7 separate regions of the Homo sapiens genome follow, and all the other regions are linked to region 4. The links are contacts of gene promoters, found by promoter capture Hi-C in blood cells and fetal thymus (Javierre and others, 2016). All regions are on one chromosome and are shown on one strand. The core of a region is centred on a gene start or on the middle of the fragment in contact, and the rest is flanking DNA. Distances in the headings are between cores, read along the strand shown.

Region 1 (3,205 bases), core at 334-2,833, 1.7 Mb before region 4:
ACATTGGAATAGTACAGTTTAGACACAGAACTGGATAAATTACTTAAAATTCTGTGAAATAATCTTTGTGATTTTTTTTTTAGAAACAAGAAAGCAATGTAATTGAAAACTCATTTTTAAGTTGTGTCTATTATACTGTGTTTCTTTCTTCTTAATAAGATATGCTTTCATGGCTCTGCTAGACCTGAATTTTTTCTTTTAATGCTTCTAATGCTGCCTTGGGTTTCTTTTTCTTTTTCTTTTTACCTTTCACATCATCAAAATAAGGGTGAAACATGATGATATGAAAGAATGAGTATTTAGCTTCTTGTCAAAAAACAATACACTTATAGAACATGTATTGGTTGCAAATATATGCTGCTCAGGTTTGTTAAGAAACCTGTTAAAGGAACAAAATAATTTAGCAAGAATTTCATTCCCATATAGAATCACAGTTGCTGAGCGTTGCTGCATTTTAGTTATCTGCTCCAATAGAATTCTGCATATTTTCCAATTTAAAAGTTTCATAATGTTTCATTTCTTTTATTTTCTAATATTATTATGTTTTATATATTAAAATAAAATTAATATTAAAAAGTAAGCACCAATAGAATATATTGTGCAGTAGTAAGCTTTATTTTTACTTAGTTAACATTCTTATCGTTTTAAGAATACCAGTGAAATCATTTCCACCAAGCAAAAAAGCATGTATTCTTTGTAATGCAACACATTAATCTAATTTAAAAAATAAATTTATGAACAAATTAACAGTAAAATTTATTGTTTGGTCCAAGTAGATGAAAAAAATTAAATGTTTAGAAAGTTATAAAAAGAAAGCATTTAAAAAAATGGTAACGTTTGTCAGTGAAACAAATACATGCACAACTCACAGAAAATAGTTATTTTTTTTTATTCTACTATTCTTTACATTAAAATTTTGGCACCCAGGAAGTTTTGTTCATTATTTTTGACAAATTTTGTGTTAGCATGAAAGAATTCTATTTTAAATAGCATACACACACACACACACACACACACACACACACACACACACACACAGCGCAAGCCAGCTAGCTGACTTTTGCCCTTCAAGGGCTTAATTAAAGATGCATGCAACTATCTTCTTTACACAGAAATATGGGGATTTATCATTCCTACCAGTCGTTCCTCATGTAGTGGATGAGAAAACGTCTGCTTATATTGTTATAAAATCTTTTCCTACATTGGCTACATCATAGATATTAGATATGGGCCATCTTTTGCCCTATAAAATCTTAAGGTTAAAGATTTAGCCACATTTTCTACGATATAAAGCTTTATTTATCTGAAAAGTCTGACAATTTTGAAAGCATGTCACAAGTTTACATTAATGCACTACCTCTATTTACTGTTTTAGATTACTACAAGGGAAGACATAAATTCAAAGCAGGTTGCTACAGTGAAAGCAGACCTGGAGTCTGAATCTTTTCGACCAAACCTAAGTGATCCCAGTGAACTTTTACTGCCAGATCAAATTGAAAAGGTATGACATGCTCACATATGTGCATTTCTGAGTGTGAGTGTGTACCCATGAGAGTAAAACAGCCTCTTTTTAGTTGTTTCTGAAGCAACAGCGTTAATGCTATTACTATTCCACTCCAGTGAAAAGAAAGAGTAAGCAAAACATAGCAACTAGTGTTAATTAAGATGTTAGGAGATTTAGGTAAGCAGACACTAAAAGCCAATATTTGTTTTATTGTTGTGTGCTTGTTACTTGCTTTATGTGGATTATTTCATGTAGTTGTTACAACAGCTGTAGAAATTGGATGCTCTTATTATGCACATTTTTTATTAAGTTAAAAAATCGGGAGCACAGAGCGATTAACTTGTTCAAGGTCACACAGGGAGAAGTATTAAAGCTTGATTCCTAACTTGGATAGTCTGTCTCCCTAGCCTATTATTTAAGAGATATTTTAATAATCAAGCTAATAGTCTATCAAGTATTTTTGTTAATTCAATATGGAAGGCAAAAGCATTAAGTAATCTATGTTTCTTATCTCTGTTCTAATCTGTGTCTGGTTCAGGGTGATTCTTTATTTTCCTAATAGACAATTAATATTTTATTCTGAGAAATGTGTAATACTTTTCAATCATCTTAGTATCTTTGAGAATAATAATTTCTACTGTTAATTTATTTTTATAGCCTATATTATATAGGCACCATTACATTCCAGCTGGCATTAGTATTCTACATAATGAACAACAAGCTATCAAGTAAATACTAACACTTTGTTTTCTAAAGCTTACCAAGCATCTTCCACCAAGAACAATTGGCTATCCATGGACTCTTGTTTATGGTACTGGAAAACATGGCACAAGCTTGAAAACTCTTTATCGAACAATGACAGGTTTAGACACCCCAGTGCTGATGGTGATTAAAGACAGTGATGGACAGGTATGAAACACCAACTGCATAGATTGCTTATCCTTTAAGAGCAGTAACAGTAACTTTTAGCATATTTATTTGATAAACATTACTTTATTAGTGCATTTTATTGTTTAACTGATAATTACTGGGTACTTTTAATATGCAAGGCAATGTTGAGTATTACAGAGGATAGATATGAGCATGATGATTAAGAATTACTGCCTTCAAAGGGATTATAGAGTGGTAGAAAAGAACATTTGCACATACCAACATCTCTAATGGTGGGGAAAATGGTAGGTTTCTTAGAACCTAGAAAAAGTGAGGAAATAAGAATGAGGTTCATGGGAAAGGTAGAAATTGACAGAATCTTGAATAATGGGTGAAGTTTTGATTAAAGATAATTGTTTGAAGGTGATAGCCAGAACAAAAGCACAAATAAGAGTAATATTGGTTTGTTCTTCAAACAGCAAGTTCAAGTCAGTTGTAATTGGAAACTAATGAGAAGGTAAAATAGCAATATTAGAACAAAACACTGGTATTACTAACACTTTTAGTGTTTTATGTGTCAGGAACTTGACTAATCACTTATGCATTATGTTATTTAATCATGAAAGCCCTATGAGATTGATACTGTTATCTTTATATTAAAGAATGAGTCAACTATGACATAAGCTCATCAACTTGCCCAAGGTTACATACCCAAGAAAAAGTATTTGCACCAATGAAAATGAATGAACTGCTGCTACATGCCATGGCATAAATGAATGTCACAAACATAATATTGAATTAGAAATCAAACACCAGAGAGTAACTTTCTTA
Region 2 (3,019 bases), core at 132-2,631, 1.8 Mb before region 4:
TTGCGTTGAACTTCAATAAAATTCAGAATATAACACTAATGGTATAACTTGATAAGGTATTTTATAGGAAGCATTATAGCTCACATTTACCAAGGCTTAATGTTTTACAGGCACTCTTGTAGGCATATTGCTTGCATGATGTTATTAAATCTTCCCGACATCTCTATATGATCTCTATTTTACAGGTAAGGAACCTGAGGGAGAGAGAGGCTAAGTCAGTTACTTTCCCATTACGCTGCTAGTAAGTGGCAAAGCCAGGATCTGAAGTTAGACTAAGGGCCCATGTTCTCAATGATGAGACATGCCTTAGGTATACTGACTGCAGATGACCTAACTTGATATGCCTGTAACTCTTAGACAACTTAAGAAAGATCACATTTTTCTTACTGATGATTGAGAAATGCAGTCTATCTCAAATGCCTTTCATAGGAGCTGAATGACAGTCAGATTGGCAGTGGACAGTCTAGCAAGCTCCTACAAGATAGAATGGGCTTATGGGAAACAGGTCCTTTTTAACTTAAAAAATCATTTTCGAATAGGTGATACATGCATATTATACACACAGTGAAAATTAAGGCTCTCTCTCATCACACCCTAAGCCACCCACTTCTTTTCTCAGAAAGCAACCACCATTACTAGGTTCTTATATATACTAACAGAAATGTTTTATTTGTATGTGGATAACTACACATACTTCACATTGTTTTCAAAAATTGAAGCATACGACATGTGGTGTTCTATATCTTCCTTTCCCCCTTAAAAATACTTTTCTCAAGATTCTTTCATAATCAGTTATACCAGGAACTGTGTAGTTATTTTTAATGGCTGAATAATATTCCATTATATAGACATGTCATATTGTATTTAATCATTTCCTTATTAGTCACCACTTAGGTTATTTTCAACATTTTGCTATTGCAAATAGAAAATTGCATCATTTCATACATCAGTAGGATAAATATCAAGAAGTGAGGACACTGAGTCAAAAGGAGTGTGCTTTAAAAATGTTGATAGATCCTGCAAAATGACCCTCTTTGATGATCCTGCAAAACGGTAGTACCATTATTCGCTCCCCTACTAGTAATATATGAAAGTGGTAGTTTCCACCCACTGTTAGCAAAATGGCTTGAAACTTTTTGATCTTCACCATCCTGATAGAAGAAAATGGTATTTATTGGCAGATATTTGCATTCCTCTTATTAGTAATGAAGCAAATTTGTTGTTTATGCCTTTGGTGTAATCTCTGAGTCCACTGCCAATTCCAAGATCATGAAGATTCACCTTATGTTTTCTTCTAGGAATTTAATAGTTTTAAGTCATACACTTATGTCTTTAATCTATTCTGAGTTCATTTCTGTCCACGGTGTGAGGTAAGGGTTTAATCTCATTCTTTTGTATGTGAATATGGAGTTGTTACTGCACCATTTATTGAAGCCACTATTTTTCCCCATTAAATGGCCTGGGCATCATTGTTGAAAATCAGTCTGTTTTCCCTAAATGTATGTGTTTACTTCTGAACCCTGAATTATATTTCATCAATCTGTACATCTATTCTTACGCCAGTACTACGGTTTTTGATTACTGTAGCTTTGAAGAAAGTTTTGAAATTGGGAAGTATGAGTCCCCCAACTCTGTTTTTCTTTTTAAATATTGTGTTGGTTCTTTGGGGTTCCTTGCAATTCTATATGAATTTGAGGATGGGATTTTCCATATCTGTAAATAAAACAGGGGAATTTTGATAGGGAGTGTATTGCATCTGTATATTGATTTCTGAATTGCCATTTTAACAATATTAAGTTTTCTAGTCCATGTATATGGGATGTCTTTCCATTTATTTAGATTTTCTTTAACTTCTTTCAATTATGTTTTGTATTTTTCAGTAAATGTCTTGCTCCTCCTTGGATAGATTTATTTCTAAGTATTTTTGTCTTTTTGATGCTACTATAAATGGAATTATTTTCTTAATTTCATTTTTGGATTAGAGATGCCTTTTTGTAATGTGTCTATTTGCAGGGGTATCTCTTTCTAATCGCACAAAAACATCTTGTGCTGGCACTGGTGATCTTTGGGAGTGTAACATCAGCTTGAAAGTGCCATAGAAATAGGGACTCTCTATCTTAGTGCTGAGTAGGCATTTACTAAAGCTGAATGAATGGATGACAATTTGCTGAGAGTGAGCTTGGGTAGGAGCTTAAGAGAGGCAGCAAATATGGATTTTCAAGAAATTCAGTGATGAATGGAAGGCCTTAAAAATGAAGGAAATGGAATATTATCCAGGATAGACTATAAACTAGGCCATAAAAAAACTCAATGATTTTGAAAGGATGGGGGAATTGTACCAAGTATGTTCTCTAACTACAGTAAAATTAAGTTAGAAGTCAAAAACACAAAGAAATTTGGGAAATTCACAAACATGTGGAAATTAAACAACATACTCCTAAATAGCCAATGAGTCAAATAATAAGTCATAAGGAAAATTACTTTGAGATAAATAAAAACTAAAGTACAATATACCAAAATTTGTGGGACAGAACTAATGAGGTATGTAGCTGTAAAAACCTATATTATTAAAAAAAAAGAAGATTTCAAATCAATAGCCTAACCTTCTGCCTTATGAAACTAGGGAGGTTGGGGGGCGGCGGGGGGAAATAGAAGATACTAAACACAAAACAAATAGAAGGAAATTATAAAGATTAGCATGGATATTAATGGAATAGGAAATAGAAAAACATTAGAGAAACCTCATTAATGAAACCTCAAGTTGGCTCTCTGCAAGGAGCAACAAAATTGACAAAGATTTAGATCGAGCAAGAAAAAAACAGAGATGACTCAAATTACTAAAATTAGGAGTAAAAGAGCTGATATTAATATAAATCAGAGAAATGAACAGGATTATAAAGGAATACTATGAACAACAAATTAGATGACTTACATTAAATGAACAAATTCCTAGAAAGACAAAACTACCAAAACTGACTGACACAAGGAGAAATAGAAAAAAAAAAAAATATATATATAT
Region 3 (3,223 bases), core at 416-2,915, 1.7 Mb before region 4:
AGAACGAATTTACTAAGATTATGTGTTGATAGGGTGTGTAACAGTATTTTTCATTCTTAAAATGATTCGTATTTGAATAAAATTGCTCTGGCTTCCCTCTTGCTTCTCACCTTTGCCAAAATACTGATAAAAAGACATTCTGTACAGTTTTGGGGTTTTGAAACAACCTGTATCTTTTTAGGTACATGACATTAGTCACATTTTCTCAATAATTGAAGTTTAGATTATTTAAGTATAAATGTAAATATGTTAACTACTTACTATATAAACCTCTATACTATTATTCAAAATATGTTAGAATCTGCCTTTCAGCTTAGTTTTTAAAATAATTTATAGTCTTTCCATTTTGACTTTAGTATTTAGTGCTGTCCCTTTTAGTTATATAAGTGTAAAATATGTAACCCGTTCTTAGCATTGTAGGCCATAACATTTATCACATTATGTCATTGTTGGATTTGGTTTTTCACTACTATGTGGTGATTGCCTTGTGGAGCCAGTTCTGTTTTCACAGCTATCATTAAGTAGAGTTATGGTCAGGATCATTCATTAGGTTTCCCAGAAAACTTCTACAACCGTGGTTATTGCTGCAACTTTTAAGAAACACCTTATCAGGAGACTTCCCTTGTTTGGTTAATATCTTATTTCCTAAGCTGACAGGCAGTGAGTATTCTGGTGATCATTTTATTAAACATATGTTTTCTATTATTATTAAGGTACAAGTAACACCAAAATTAAAACTGAGTTAATATGTTAAACGCACAAAACCCTCATGATCTCTTCTCAGTCTAGCCAGCAAAATCCACATAGAATTAATTTTGTCCAAAAGTGAAGGAATTCTTTGTGTATAAAGTCACTACATTGAGAAATCACATTTCTCAGATAAAGGGAATTTTTTTAAGTATTCTTTTTTTTTAATACTGATCGAATAATCAAATAATATTACAAATTATAACTCCAGAAGAAATTTAATAAATCTAAAAAAGAAATCAGAAGGATTAAACACTTAATTAGAATTTATTAGTTGATAGGTACTGACTTTCATAATACGGTCATGCAGCACATAATGACATTTTGGTTGGTCCCCTGAGATTATAATGGAGCTGTCTCTTAGTGATGTCATAACATCATAGTACAATGCATTACCCTCTCTATGTTTAGATATATTTTGATACACAAATCCTTATCACTGTGTTACAGTCACCTATAGTATTCAGTACAGTAACGTGCTATATGGTATGACCTAGAAGTAATAGGCCATACCGTATAACCTGGTTATATGGTAGGCTATTCCATTTAGGTTTGTGTAAGTACACACTGTGATGTTCACAAAACGAAATTGCTTAAAGATGCATTTCTCAGAACATATCCCTGTCATTATGTGATATATGACTATATTTCTATGTTGAGAACCTGTATAGTTACAAATGAAACTTTTAGACTGTTTATGTTTTCTTTTATTAGCATTTGGCACCCAGGTTTTATGCCTAATATGGTCTGTTTTGACTACTGATTATGTTATCTTAAAGTTGTTATCGACCTTAGGAGAGTTTTGAACTAGTGTTTTGCTTTCCCTGTTAAAAATATTCTTCAATTGCTAGCCCAAAGTTATGAGCTATAACATTTCCATTAAAAATCTTTATCTAGGCCAGGCGTGGTGGCTCACACCTGTAATCCCAGCATTTTGGGAGGTCAAGGCAAGCAGATTACCTGAGGTCAGGAGTTCGAGACCAGCCTGGCCAATATGGTGAAATCCCATCTCTATTAAAAATACAAAAATTAGGCCAGGTGCGGTGGCTCATGCGTGTAATCCCAGCACTTTGGGAGGCCGAGGCAGGTGGATCATGAGGTCAGGAGATCGAGACCATCCTCGCTAACACGGTGAAACCCCGTCTCTACTAAAAATATAAAATAAAATACAATAGCCAGGTGTGGTGGTGGATGCCTGTAGTCCCAGCTACTCAGGAGGCTGAGGCAGGAGAATGGCATGAACCCAGGAGGCGAACCTTGCAGTGAGCCGAGATCGTGCCACTGCACTCCAGCCTGGGCGACAGAGCAAGCCTCTGTCTCAAAAAAAAAAAAAAAAATACAAAAATTAGCCGGGCGTGGTGGCGCACACCTGTGATCCCAGCTACTCAGGACTCTGAGGCAGGATAATCACTTGAACCCAGGAGGCGGAGGTTACAGTGAGCAGAGATCATGTCATTGTACTCCAGCCTGGGCAACAGAGCAATACTCCATCTCAAAACAAAAAACAAACAAACAAAAAACCTCTAATATAGACTGTCAGAAGAGGATTTATGGGTGACAGACTAGTTTATGATTTTAAATATTAAAATTCTAAAATATTACTTTATTTTTAAATTTATTATTATTTTTTGAGAAAGGGTCTTGCTGTGTTGCCCAGGCTGGAATGCAATGGCACACTCACAGCTCACTGCATCCTCGAACTCCTGGGCTCAAGAGGTCCTCCTGCCTCATCCTCCTCAGTAGATGGGACTACAGGTATGTGCCACCTCATCCAGCTAATTTTTTTTTTTTAGAGATAGAGTCTTGCTGTGTTGCCCACGCTGGTCTCAATCTTCTAGGCTCAAGTAATCCTCCTGCCTCAGCCTCCCAAAGCACTGGGATTACAGCCACCTCACCTGGCATAAAATAATAAATAGTGAGTAGGGTAAATTATATATTATAGCTTCTATCATACCATTCCCAACTCAAATAGGAAGAGATATAAGGTAATTTAATAACTTCAGTTCGAATAAAGTAAAGGAAAAGGATTATTAAATTGAATATCTGAATTATGAGAACAGATTATGTTCAACTTGTAAACTGGTAGTGTTTTCAAAAGTGCTTTGTTTTATATCCCATCATGTTATAATAATAACAATTGACATCTGCTTCAAATTCTTGGATATCTAGGCAAATTTAAATGACTTAGCAATATGTATTATAAATACTACAAAAACAGAAAGGGCAAGAAGGAGACTTACTGAGCTCATTTTATGTTTGCCTGACACTGTATTTATAAATTTGGATGACTTCGAGAAACAGAAAACCACACTCAGAATAGCTTAAACCTGTTGTTTCTCGAAGTGTAGTTCCCAGACCATCAGCAGCAGCAGCACCTGGGAATTTGTTAGAAATGCAAATTCTCAGACCCCATTTGAGTCTGATTAATTAGAAACCATTTTTGGAGCCCAGCATTCTGGTATAACAAATACTCCAG
Region 4 (3,215 bases), core at 649-3,148:
AGTACGTCAAGCAACCAGACTGGGTTTTGGGAAGGTTTATCAGTTTGGGACTGATCAGCATATAAACAGTATTTCTAGACATAGGATGGTACCTCCATGAGAGTGCCACGCAGGGGCTTTAGCTGCAGCATCTGTTTTTATCTTGATTAACAACACAAGGTAGCTATTTTCTTTTTACACACATATTATTAGATTTTTATATATGAGCCTTTTTGATGTTTAGAGAGAAATAAGCTGAAAGTCACCCAGCTACTGAAAGGTAGAGCCTGGATTCAGATCTGGGAGTTCTTGTTCTTCCTATTGCACCAGGTTGCTTTACTGGAGCATTAAAATATGTGAATTTCTGAGTATTTTTTAACTTTTTGAATGAAAGATTTTTAAAAAGTCTGTTTAGAAAGAATGCCAGCTCATTCAGAATTGAATCCAAGTATATACATTCACTAGTCTTCTCTGTTGTTAAGTGACTTCTCTGGGGTCTATGGTTTGATGGTTTTTTTCCTTTTTTTAAACAAACAAACAAAAAAACCTCTGCGGTTGACTGGAGCCGACAGGTGAGGAATGGAGAGATGTTGGTCAAATAGTACAAACTTTTGGTTGTAAGATGAATATGTTCTGGAGATCGAATGTACAGCATGGTGACTACAGTTATAATTCTGTATTGTATACTTTGAAGTTTGCTGAGAGATTTTTAAGTGTTCTCAACACACACACACACACACACACACAGGAAATATGTACGGTGATAGATGTGTTAATTAGCTTGCTTGTGGTAATCATTTCACAGTGTATATTTACATCTAATCATTACTTTGTATACCTTAAATATACACAATTTTTGTCCATTACACCTCAATAAAGCTGAGAAAAAAAACCCTCCACTCTTTTGACTTGTGGGATAGTATTATTTCTACTTCTCAAATCAACTGCCCCTTCTTTACTGACCAATAACTTTCGGCTGCATTGCAGTGATTTTTAGTTTTTTCTCAGCTTACATATTTCCTCTACAATCTCATGTCCCCATTGCTTCAAATACTAAATATACGCTTATCATCCTCAAATTTTTTACTTCCTGTCCAGACATTTCTCCTTAAGTCTAGGAGATGACGTCCAAAGTTTCCTAAAAGCAATTAGTCTGGTGGGAAAGGAGGCTCCCCCATCCACCCAGGAGTAATGAGGAGCGAAGTTCAGGAACTGTGAAGGTCTCATTCGTACATTCATTCCTTATAAGTACTTACATACTCGCGACAGTTTGAAACCTAGTGTGGCATGCAGACATGGATGAAGCAATGACAGGCACGACGAGCGTTAATGAAGGGTATAAGCTAGCGCGAGGGCATTCAAGGGAACTTCAGAGCGCAAAGGAAGAATCCCACTTAGTCTCTCAAAACTTTGGAGTTTATCCGTTTAGTCGATTAAAAAGTGAACGGAAAGCAAATCCCATTACGGAAGGAGGAAAGTTGGGGACAAATAAGGGATTCGTGCAGAAGGCTGCACTGCGGCCGGCCATGAAGAGAATAAGGGTACTTAAGGGAGTGTGAAGAGAATGAACAAGCCTAGGTAGAAAAAACTGAAAAGCCAGGATTGACGGACACTAAAAACCCAGCATTTGTTAAAAATCCACGTCAACACACACACACACCTCACCCCGAGCCAGCACCGTAGCCCCGCCAGCAGCCAGGGTATCCTGAGATTGCGGGAGCGCCACGCACCGCCCACCTAGCTCCGTCCACCGTCCAGCTCGCTCCGCCCAGCTCGCTCCGCCCCCTTCCCCGAAAGCCCCTCCGCAGAGCCGCGTGCACGTGCGTGGCGGATACCGCCCCCTCTGCTCTCTTGGCCAATGAGAAAAAGCTACGTAACTCTCCACCGCCCGGTGGCGGGTCACGTGACTGCGTCTCCCCGCCCTCTCACCCCGCTGCCTCTAGGTTCTGGGAAGATGGCGAAGGTCTCAGAGCTTTACGATGTCACTTGGGAAGGTAACTTCGGGTGGGGGCGGGTGCGGAAAGACTAAAAGCGCTGGGAAGCCGTTCGGGAGTACCCGCTGCTTTCGGGGAGCTGGGTTCTCTGGTGTCTTTTTGGTACCAGAGCCCTCACTGTACGGGCCAAGCTGAGGTGGAGGCTGAGGCTGACCCTTCCCTTGGCCCGGACGCGTACTCTGCAGCGTTTCCCACGGTGTCTGCTCCTCGGTTGACCTGCCCTCCTCCGCGCCAGTCCAGCGTCCCGGGGCCGCTTTTATTTATGAGGCGGGCGGGAGGGACTTGGGGCTGGGGTTGTCGCACGCTAACTGGTTGCTGGGCGGTGCGGAAGAGGCGGAATAGGTGGTTACTGAAGCTTCTTTGGAGCCAAGAAACACAGGGCCTGTAAGGCCCTTTACTAAGTGGTGTGTAAGGATTACAGCTCTGTGCAGAAAAGCTGTGTAAAAGATGCGTGAACAAATGTGATTCTCATATGCCACTCTACATTTAGTTTTCTTCTTAAACCCGGGTTTCCAGTTTCTTTTCCTTTTAGTCTAGTCTCTGTCCCACTCCTTCTCAAAACACATTTACACACACAACACAACTTCTTTCTTACTCCCTACTAGTAGTTTCTTTTCTGAAGGGAAAAATAACTAATTAACTCTGGGCTACGTAAGTGCTTACGTGTGATGGTCACTTTTCCCTATCCTTAGTTGATCTAGAGTGGGATATGTTCTTTAAATCTGGGAACAGCCAAACCTTGGATCAATTCTGTGTGCTTAAGAAACTTGAGTTTCATTAAGGCGTGGAATTTGTGTAATTGGAATTCATATTCCCAGCATTTAACATAATACAGGAGACTTCAGTAGCTAATTTGCTTAACGAATGCCTTCTTGGGATGTTTTAATAATGACCTGAAAACATGTGGACCGAAAGTTGTATTTTCTGTTTTATCGTGAATAAATATATCAGTTATTATAAAGTTGTAAATCCGTTACAAATAAAGCAAAATTTCTTTGTACTTGAACTGAATTAAATGATTTATTGACTTTATGGCCTCTAGCACGTTGTGAATCTCAGTATTTATACCTGAATTGAGGGATTCCATTATATTAAACAACAGTGTTGATTTCTTACTGCAAAATCTTGGCTCTGTCAACACACAGTCCCCACTTCCAAGGAAGTCACAATCTAATGGAGAAAACAAACCTGTAAACACACAGTTTTAAAAGGCTTGTGTCAGGGTATCTTCCGTAAGCTGAG
Region 5 (2,922 bases), core at 242-2,741, 1.8 Mb before region 4:
CAAAACAAACCAAAAAGCTTATTTTTATGGTAAGTACAGACTTCAGTTTCAAAAATCTATTTTTAATTTTTTTAAACCCATTAAATCTTTAATGTAGTTCAATGGTGTAGCTCTAAACTGCAAGTTAGTAAAAGCACTTCTGTACAAGGGGAAAACAATTAATCCAAATATGCAGTTATCTAACAGTCCATCTTAACTGAGAGGTAGGTTTTACATTTTAAACTATAGATTTTAGATAGTTACGACTCTCTGTTTTGGATTTTTTTGAGAGTACTACTCAATAGAATTTTTTGAGGTGATGAAAATGGTCTGTATCTGTGATGGCCAGTATGGTAGCCACTAGGCAAATATGGCTATTGAGTATCTGAATTGCAGCTAATGCAAATGAGGAACTGGATTGAGAAAATTGGATTCAGGATTCTGTATTTGCTCTATCTAATATGGTAGCAACTAGTGTTAAAGGAAAAATTATTTGATAATACTTCCTAAAGCACAATAAGACAGACTTTATTCAGGACCATTGCAATAGGGATAGGGACTGTGGCAATGAGATTTTGTAGTTGAGGAGAGAGATTGGGCTCAACTCCAAATACAAAATGGGCAAGTGGGAATTTCTAGCCAAGGAGTAGAGTAAGGATAGATGGATGGACAATTGCTAAGAGGTAACGTCAGGAATAAGGGGTATTATGGTGAAACTGACCTACCAGGATTCTTGCTGAAGGCAGGCCAGAGTAATCAGACTTCACCTGGACAGTGGAGGATGAGAAAACTGATCAGATACGGAAGGTAATCAGATATCCAGGATCGGGGTGGGGGTTCCTGCTACACTGACCTTAACATGATTCTTGCTGAAACTCGGTTTTATAAGGAAGTGAACAGATTGGCATAGGAGAAGGTTCAGCAGCCTGACTAAAATTTGGCTATGCAAATAATCTTTGTGACTAGGCACATGTAGCTATTTTAATGTAAATTAATTTAATTAAGTAAAACTTTAAATTCAGTTTTCAGTCTCACTAGAGACATTTCAAGTACTCACAAGACAGATGGCTAGTGGCTACCATATTATACAAGGCAGATATAAAACATTTTTACCATTGCAGAAAGTTTTATTGGGCAGCATTGATAGCAATGAGTCCCAATGCAGGGTACACATTAGAATTCCCTGGGTAGCCATGAAAAAATTTTGATGCCAAGATCTGATTATAATCAAAGATTTGATCTTGAAATCTCTGTTTAAGATCTCCACTTACAGTTTCTTACGGAATTCTAATATGTAACTAGGGTTAAAAACCACTGACTTAGGATGTGAAGGACTCTACATCATTCTGTTTTCCTTAATGATATTTCTCTCAATCAAACTCTTGCTGAATTTAGCAGGTTATTATTTATTTATTTTTCTTTACAAGTACTTGGGGCATGCACCTATTTTATGATGCAAGTTAATAAAAGAAATGCATGTTTAAGTTTTCTGCCAACCTCTGGATAGTATTGAGACCTTAGGAAAGTTGAGGTGACTTACAATGAAAAGTTCCTAAAAGGAAGACATGTTTGTATGCTGAGAGAAAGATGCTGAAGATAAAATGACTGTGTGGCAAGGTCCTTGTGGAATAAATAAACTACTGGAATTATGATCATTCTTTTTTCACATGCCACAATTAAGAGCCATTAATATTGTGGAATATTTGCTTCCAGTCTTTTATACGAAATTAATTTTTAAAATAAACCTGATATATACTATATATAAATAAGTCATATGTTGCAAATACTGAACTTTAAAAATCACCTCTAATCCAGTCACCCAGAGATACTGTTAATATTTGGGTAGGCATTACTGCCAAGTAATGTACATCACTTCTATGTGTATGTACATATAGAAGGATGGATGGGTGGTTAGAAGGAGGGAGTGACAGAATGAAAGATAATACTTATTCACCACAAGAGGTTAATTCCTAAGGGGTGTGTCTAAATTTAAGCAAATTCTAAAAAAAAAAAAAAGAAAAAAAATTACAGATACTGTTATTACAATCTTGTTTCAGTTTTAGGTGGGATATATTTAACCATGCTTTGGTATGACATTAGCAGTTTCATTTCTCATTTTTCTCCTCCTCACATCCTAATATTTACTCATTTTACTATTTTTACATTGTCCATGTTTGTAACATTCATACTTAGTTTTTCAACCACTTTTTTATAACTTATTATTGTTCTATATTCTCTAGTAACCTTTTAGAATGTCCTCCTTGATTCTGGAGTTTTTGATACAATTGGCATAATTTCAGTCTTATAGCACTGAGTAATGTTTCAGTAGAGAAGTCTCATGCAAGCCAGCCAGATTCTTTTCCATTTCCCCTAGTAGATGATTTGCTTTTTATGCATGAATTGTTGAATAATTTTTTAAGCTCCCAAGCATAATAATTTAACTAAGAGTAGAAATGGGAATAGCCTGACTCATGTGCCCACATGTGTCTATGTGGAATAATCTTTTAGGAATTACACCTTTCTTCTGGAATACATGTTGATGGAGCAGCCACTATATGGAAGATCTCTGGTTTTGAGATAGAAAAGAGAGCTAAGAAGTACAATTTTGGCTCCAAACACTTCCACCTGGAAGACATATATGGTTCATTGGGCAAAGCAAGTTGGCCATGTCTGACATCAATAGGATGGTGAGGTATATTTTATATTCCTCAACAGGAAGGAATACAGGCTTAGTAACAATAATATAGTCTATCACCATGACTAATTTAGAAACCATTATATTAGTTTGACAGATTTGAAAACTGCTGGTGTTAACTGTCACAAATATGAAGTTATGTAGGGAAGCCCATTTCTTCTGTCACTTACGCAGTCTGCAGGTCTTTGATCTCTTCAGAAGCTCTATTTGTATGTCTCTCAAATGTGTTGTGCGTGCAAATCAATAGT
Region 6 (2,927 bases), core at 238-2,737, 1.2 Mb after region 4:
TTTGCTTTCCCTAAATTAGCTGTGACAGTCTGACTTGTTTTCTTGTCTCCTCACAAAGTTGAACCCTATACCTGGAACAGTTATTTCCTGATAGCTCACACACAATTATCTTTAAAATCCCTCCTCTTCTGGACAGGATCTTAATTATTCGTTAATATCCTGGTACACAAGGCTTGTTGCCAACAGAAAAGCAAACACAAATCCGATACTCGGGAAGATGGCTCCACCTTTTACATCATCTTTAATTTTTGTTTTCCTTACAGGACATCCATAAGAAGAGATTTTTCTTTCTCCTTAAAAACGCAGCATGAAGTACCCTGCCATTTCGTGGTTTTAAAAATGCGTAACAGTAATATTTTCACAATGTTTTCCAACTTATAAAGTGCTTTTCCAACCATTTTCTCATTTGATCTTTACACACCAGACTGTACATAGAGAGCACACCAATGAATGTCCCTATTTTCAGATGAGGAAACAGGCTAAATGGGGTAGAGATGCTTAGGCAATTCTGCACACCATGCCAGAAGTAGAACGAAATTCAAATCCAGTGCTTTGCAGGGTCACCACCACCCTGCCTTATGAAAATGGATTCCTAGGAGGAGCGTTTTGCAAAAATTCCACTGCTTCCTCCAACCTCTGCCACTGAAAGGGACTCTTTGGCTTAGGTAACAAACACCCTTTCGAAACATGACCTACTGTTCCTTCCACCGGCTTACCAGGAAGGGTCACGGCCAAAATAAACACCTCTGGGAGGCCGGCACATGGCATAAATTGAAGGGTAAACCTCAGCAATGGGGAACTTCGGAGGGCCCTCAGGCATCCACTCTACCCGGGGGCCGCCAGCCGCACGCAGCCTCGGATTCGCCCTGCACATCTGCCGCCCAGCAGGTACCATGCGCCAGCCACTCCGCCGGGCACACCGCAGACCCTGAGCTAAGGCAGGGTCACTGACACGCGGGAGTCCTCTTTTCCCAGTCGCGGATGCATCAAATTCCTTTCATTCACATCACACACACAGGATATCAACTGAAAGCTACACCCCACAGTCCCAGTTTCAGGAGGTGGGATTAACCCTCCAATCATGTCATTCTCCAAAATCTATTCCTCCAGTACCACCTCCCCATCTCCTGGATCTCAACTCCTAAGCAATGCCTCCTGCCTTCTCCAGACCCCACCACCACCTCCTTCCACCTTTCCCCAGACTCTAAATGTCACCCCTCCAGCTCTCATCCCGCCGCTTCTCGCCCCGCAGTGCCCGCCTTCCCCGCCCTCCAGTGCCCGCACTGCCCCGCGCTCCTTACCTTGCTCTCGCGGAGGGGCCCCATCGCGCCGCTGCCCGCCGGCTCCTCGCGCCGCCGCTGCCGCCGTCCAGGAGGAGGCACCTGCGAGCACGGAGCGAGGAGACTGCGCTGAGCCGGCGCGGGCTGCGGGCGGCGGCTCTTGGTGAGGCTCCAACGCGCCGCCGCCGCCACTGCCGCCGATTGCTCTGGGCTCCGAGGGCACGCCCGACCCCGCCCCGGCCGGACACGTGGTGCCGCACTCGCTAGAGGCAGCTCCTGGGGCGCCTCCCACGCCCTCCCTCACCTGCGGCCTTCGGGGCAACTCGACCGCGCCTGGGCGCGCCCCACCCGCCCGATTTCCCCACGGCACTCCGCGCCCCCCCAGCCAGAGCCGGTGTCCCTCCCTCTCCAAGGAGCTCGGCCCGGTGTAGGCAGGCTGCGGCTAGCGGCATCTCCAGCCCAGGGGTGACCCCACCCTCTTTTTTTTTTGCACTTGATCTCAGGTTTGAAGTGGGTGGCGTTGGATGGAGTGACTGAGAAAAGCTGCGACATCACAGAGAGACAAAATAGAGAAAGTTTTCCCCTGGCCACCCCTCCTTGGCCTCCAGGTCTTAAGTCAGCCTACAGCTCCCCACAACTGCCTCGCCCGAGAGCTGCAGAGATCCCTCTCGTACCGGAGCCCAGCCAAGCCAGTGCGTCAGGACCGACACAGCCTCTGGGTTCCGGGATCTGAAAGGCTGCGATGGATTCTACTTGGAAGGGGTTGCATCAGAAAGGCCTTCAGTGGTCAGCGCAGCTCCCTCCGGCTTGGAGAAGCCAGGCTGCTATGTAGCCAGAGAACAGTCTTTTCCCCAGCGCTGCCCTGCAGCTGCCCGGCTCCAGGAAGTAGCTCCAGCACACTGCTAAGGGAAGAGCACTGGAATTGAACTCAGAAAAACGAGTTCAAGCCAGCACTCCAATCGGTCCCTTCAGCCTGAGTGCCTTTATGCCTAAAGTTTTTGTTGTTGTTTCGTTTTTTGTTTTTTTTTTTTTCCGTTGCTGTTGAAACGGCATCTCGTTCTGTGGCCCAGGCTGTAGTACAGTGGCGCGATCAGGGCTCACTGCAACCTCTAACTCCTGGGATCAAGGGATCATCCCGTCCAGGCCTCTCAAAGTGCTCGAATTACATGCGGATGCCATTGCATGCGTGGCCTACGCCTACGGTTCTTGACCCTTCTGAACTTCAAATTTACCCTTGTTAAATTGAGGGATAATAATAGTGATACCTACCTCTAGGATAGCTGTGAGGGTTAGGTGAGGAAAACAAACAGCTCTATCCAGCTGATTGAACAGAACTTTCCAAAGGGCAGCTAAGTCAGGTCCAGATGATCCAGTCAATATTTGTTGATGCCTTTTACATGACAGGCAGAAAAAGCATTTGTGATGCACACAAATTTGTTTAAGAAAGCTCGAAAATCTGTCCAACTGGGGACTTAGAATAGGGTACATCAGCTGGGCCAAGGGCCTTGATTTATTACAATTGCTACCCTTAAATCTTATCTGGTGGTGGAATTCACCATGTATAATGACTTATATACCCTTTATTCAGAATTGGAGAATATTCCAAGCAGTGCGACACTCTGATCCTTATGCACCAGTGTCCTACAT
Region 7 (3,202 bases), core at 467-2,966, 1.7 Mb before region 4:
TAATTTTATTGTATTTCAAACAGAAGAAAGTGTATGTGGAATATAACTTATAAATACTATAAAAACAAGAACAGAAAATACAAGAAAACATCTTTTATTCTTATGCTATTTGTCTTTAACATTTGGCGTAGGTTTCACTTGTAATAGAAGTGTGCATCTTACATGAAATCCTACTTAGAAATATTGGTCATTAACTTATAGCTTTATAAATACGGTATGGAAACAAAATACGCATACTTTCTTAAGATACCAGAACCTTCAGTTTGAAAGAGACTCATACATGAAAACAAATATAATTCTTATAGCAGTCTAATACCTATTATTTTGAGGTATCATATTTAGACATTAATTTTTACATTTAACACCAAAGTGCTATACTATCAATGCATTTTAGTAATTTCATTGAATCCAGTAAGAATTGCAATCTCACATTCCATTCCATTTGTTTTTAAGATCACATAGGCACATTAATGTCCAATGATTTTCTCCTTGCCATCATCATTGTATATTTTTTACTTTGGCAGAACTAATATTGCAGTTTTATGACTTAAACATTTCATAAAGTTTTCTTTGTTACAGTATGAGGAACATTAAACTGTCTCAAATCTGTTTTTAATTCACCAATGATTCTATGGGATTTTTCTAATACTGAACATTCCACTTCATAGATTTTCTGTATTTCTCCATTGTTGGAGAAATACATATCATTGCATTGATGTTAATGCAAGCAGCTTGACTCGTTATATGCTGACATGTAATGAAACAATAAACTTCTCCAAGAAGTCCTACAAAGGCAAGTAAATCTGAATCTCTCACCTCTGCTCTACTTTTAGTGAGGGTGTGCCTTCCTTTGTTGGTACTAAGACAGGAAGTGTCTGTTTTTATGTGATTTGCTGAAATCAAACAAGAGGAAGGTGAACTCTTACTGGAAACCTGTTAGAATCCAAGCCCACAGAGGAACTTCAACAATTTCAGCAACATCTTGACAACTTTTTATATATGTGCTTGTTTTGTAAGTGATGCTATGATATAAACAATAATACAAAGTCAAGCTTCTGAAAAAATTTTAAGTTTAGTTTTACCAAACTTAATGGTATTTTCTTTTTTCCAAATAAAGACACATTATTATATGTTCTACTGATATTTATCTCAAGTCAGCATTCTTCTTAGATGTAATGTTTAATTAAAAATCTATAGTAGTTTCTACAATGACTAGCTAAATATTTTGCCTAAAATATACAAGTGGCTGGGTGCTGTTGCTCATGCCTATAATCCCAGCTACTTGGGAGGCTGAGGTGAGAGGATCACTTGAGGCCAGGAGTTAAAAGACCAGCTTTGGTGACATAAAGAGAATCTGTCTCAAAACAAAAACAAAAACACCCTGTGGAATTTCAACTATTAATACTATTATTATACATTAACATTCTATGTGCTTTCTGAAATGCTTTGTGCCTTCTCAAAATCTCCAAAATTCCTCATTCTAGATAGAAATAGAATGCCAGAAAGTCGTTTATGTAAAAATTGTTTAATATTTACTAACTTATTACAGAGAGTTTGCATTTTCATTTTACCTACATGAGCATTTAGCATTAAGACCATAGTGGGCCAAATTTGGCTTTTGTTTTTGAAGGTTCACTTGAGTAGCGTAATCACAACATGGTCATCTCGGCCTTGCCATAGCATCTCTCCTTCAAAGTCTACCAGTCCATGTTTCCTGGCACGCATGAGAATGCCCACTACTTTATCTGAAATACGAACGTATCTGTCAAAGAGATCTCCAAAAGTAACCTGGATCTTGCCATCTCGTCTGTGGCGAGCCATTGTGCAGATAATGAAGCACATGTCCATCATTTCCCTGTAGATGTGCTCCTCAGCACGCTTGGCCCTTTCAGCAGTTTTGGTTCCTTCTTTGGGGCGGCCATAGCCCTCATCTCCTTTGTGTAGGCGGGTGGACATGGCCAGCTCGTAATCAAACTCTTCACTGAAAGGATTGAGCTTCTGGGATTGTATGTGTTCATCAGCCCACTGCTGCCATCTCCCTTTCAAGTTGCCCACTGGGCTATATTTCTGTTGGGCTTTGCAGTTGAGTTTCTCTGTAAATCTGTTTACCCTAAAGTAGAGAGAGGGTGAACAATCAAGATTCAGATATGTTAACACCGAGTGTTGTTTTCCCTTTGTACTTCCCACACATATGCATCTTTAATGTAAGTATAATTTTTTCACTACAAAAATAAACACAATATAAAAAATTAGAAATGAAAGAAGAAAAATCATACATAGTCCCACCGTTGTTCTTAGTTTGGTGCATATCCTTCTAGATTGTTTTCTCTATGAATAACGATTTTAAGCATTATAATGATATTAAAATCTATTTTAAGAAAAAAGCTTCCCCACACAAAGTTAATGCAAATGTGTATATCTTTAAGTTGAGTATTGGTAACATTTTAGAACTGAAATCATGTAGGTGTTTTCAGGAATCTAGTTCTTAGAGGACCTCTGAAACCAATTATTTCCCAAAGGTAAGGACTCTACCACTACACATGCAGTTTAATATTTAATCATATATAGATTTTTATATGTGGATTTTTCAGTGAGAGCATATATAGACTAGTATCAATGATGCCACAAACTTCGAAATATGAAGTTGTACAGATAGAAAACACTAGCTAGCAATAGTAACATTTACTGAACACTATGTACTGGCATTCTTCTAAATGCTTTATTAATATTCCCCACAACCATTTCCTGAGATAGGTACTACTATTCCTACTTCACAAATGAGGAAACTGAGGCCAGAGAGATGAAGTAACTTCTTAAAGTCACAAAACTGTTAAGTGGTAGAACTAGACTTTGAACCAAAGTTAAGCTGGCTCCAGAGCCTGTCTATAACTGTGAAATACTGCCCTAAATAGGTGACGTTGCAGGATTCAAACGCAAGACTGCCTTAGACCAAGGTCAATGCTCTTTCTACTATGTAGTGATGCCACTCAGCAGGCCCATACAGTGTCTAATAAAGGAATAAGTTGCGTTTTAAATGTGTATATCTTTGGAATTCAGAATGCATTTTCTATTAAAAAACCAACTCTGGAAAGTGTAGACTAGTAGTATCGTGAGGATGCCAGCCTAATATTAGGATGGGGCAGCAAACTAACACAGGAACAGAAAACCAAACACCACATGTTCTCACCTGTAAGTGGGAGCT

What was found. The method cuts DNA at HindIII sites, captures the fragments that hold promoters and counts their contacts. A CHiCAGO score of 5 or more calls a contact.
Region 1: a fragment that was not itself captured here is called in contact with the fragment with the promoter of EMC2 in region 4 in 1 of 17 cell types (activated CD4 T cells); the score reaches 5.1 in activated CD4 T cells.
Region 2: a fragment that was not itself captured here is called in contact with the fragment with the promoter of EMC2 in region 4 in 2 of 17 cell types (total CD4 T cells and non-activated CD4 T cells); the score reaches 7.3 in total CD4 T cells.
Region 3: a contact is called between a fragment that was not itself captured here and the fragment with the promoter of EMC2 in region 4, in 1 of 17 cell types (fetal thymus). The highest score is 6.8, in fetal thymus.
Region 5: a fragment that was not itself captured here is called in contact with the fragment with the promoter of EMC2 in region 4 in 6 of 17 cell types (activated CD4 T cells, naive CD4 T cells, total B cells and 3 more); the score reaches 8.2 in activated CD4 T cells.
Region 6: a contact is called between the fragment with the promoter of SYBU here and the fragment with the promoter of EMC2 in region 4, in 2 of 17 cell types (total B cells and naive CD8 T cells). The highest score is 8.6, in total B cells.
Region 7: a contact is called between a fragment that was not itself captured here and the fragment with the promoter of EMC2 in region 4, in 1 of 17 cell types (naive CD4 T cells). The highest score is 7.7, in naive CD4 T cells.

Annotation. Positions count from the first base shown.
Region 1 is chr8:106,738,083-106,741,287 of GRCh38, forward strand. OXR1 (oxidation resistance 1) reads left to right here. Exons shown (of 17, transcript NM_001198533.2): 13 at 1,376-1,501; 14 at 2,261-2,413. Among named protein-coding and RNA genes, the nearest start is that of ABRA, 31 kb to the right of the region's middle. The HindIII fragment of the contact is 584 bases long and covers 1,292-1,875 here.
Region 2 is chr8:106,650,077-106,653,095 of GRCh38, forward strand. The region is part of intron 3 of OXR1 (oxidation resistance 1); the gene reads left to right. The region is part of intron 1 of OXR1-AS1 (OXR1 antisense RNA 1); the gene reads right to left. Among named protein-coding and RNA genes, the nearest start is that of OXR1-AS1, 6.1 kb to the right of the region's middle. The HindIII fragment of the contact is 7,815 bases long and covers 1-3,019 here.
Region 3 is chr8:106,721,431-106,724,653 of GRCh38, forward strand. All of the region lies in intron 11 of OXR1 (oxidation resistance 1), which reads left to right. Among named protein-coding and RNA genes, the nearest start is that of ABRA, 47 kb to the right of the region's middle. The HindIII fragment of the contact is 3,703 bases long and covers 1-3,223 here.
Region 4 is chr8:108,441,726-108,444,940 of GRCh38, forward strand. It overlaps EMC2 (ER membrane protein complex subunit 2), which reads left to right and starts at 1,899. Exons shown (of 11, transcript NM_014673.5): 1 at 1,899-1,973. The coding sequence starts at 1,934. LOC105375704 (a long non-coding RNA gene) reads right to left here and starts at 1,747. Exons shown (of 3, transcript XR_928530.4): 1 at 1,645-1,747. RefSeq lists a silencer at 1,733-1,852. The HindIII fragment of the contact is 5,303 bases long and covers 1-2,326 here.
Region 5 is chr8:106,665,986-106,668,907 of GRCh38, forward strand. All of the region lies in intron 3 of OXR1 (oxidation resistance 1), which reads left to right. Among named protein-coding and RNA genes, the nearest start is that of OXR1-AS1, 9.7 kb to the left of the region's middle. The HindIII fragment of the contact is 2,952 bases long and covers 16-2,922 here.
Region 6 is chr8:109,643,335-109,646,261 of GRCh38, forward strand. SYBU (syntabulin) reads right to left here and starts at 1,488. Exons shown (of 7, transcript NM_001099754.2): 1 at 1,302-1,488. The coding sequence starts at 1,325. It overlaps SYBU-AS1 (SYBU antisense RNA 1), which reads left to right and starts at 795. Exons shown (of 2, transcript NR_161375.1): 1 at 795-888; 2 at 1,784-2,927. RefSeq lists a silencer at 1,253-1,742 and enhancers at 1,255-2,191, 1,853-2,172. The HindIII fragment of the contact is 4,274 bases long and covers 1-2,927 here.
Region 7 is chr8:106,759,405-106,762,606 of GRCh38, forward strand. ABRA (actin binding Rho activating protein) reads right to left here. Exons shown (of 2, transcript NM_139166.5): 2 at 79-2,110. The coding sequence ends at 1,633. Among named protein-coding and RNA genes, the nearest start is that of ABRA, 9.2 kb to the right of the region's middle. The HindIII fragment of the contact is 1,333 bases long and covers 1,051-2,383 here.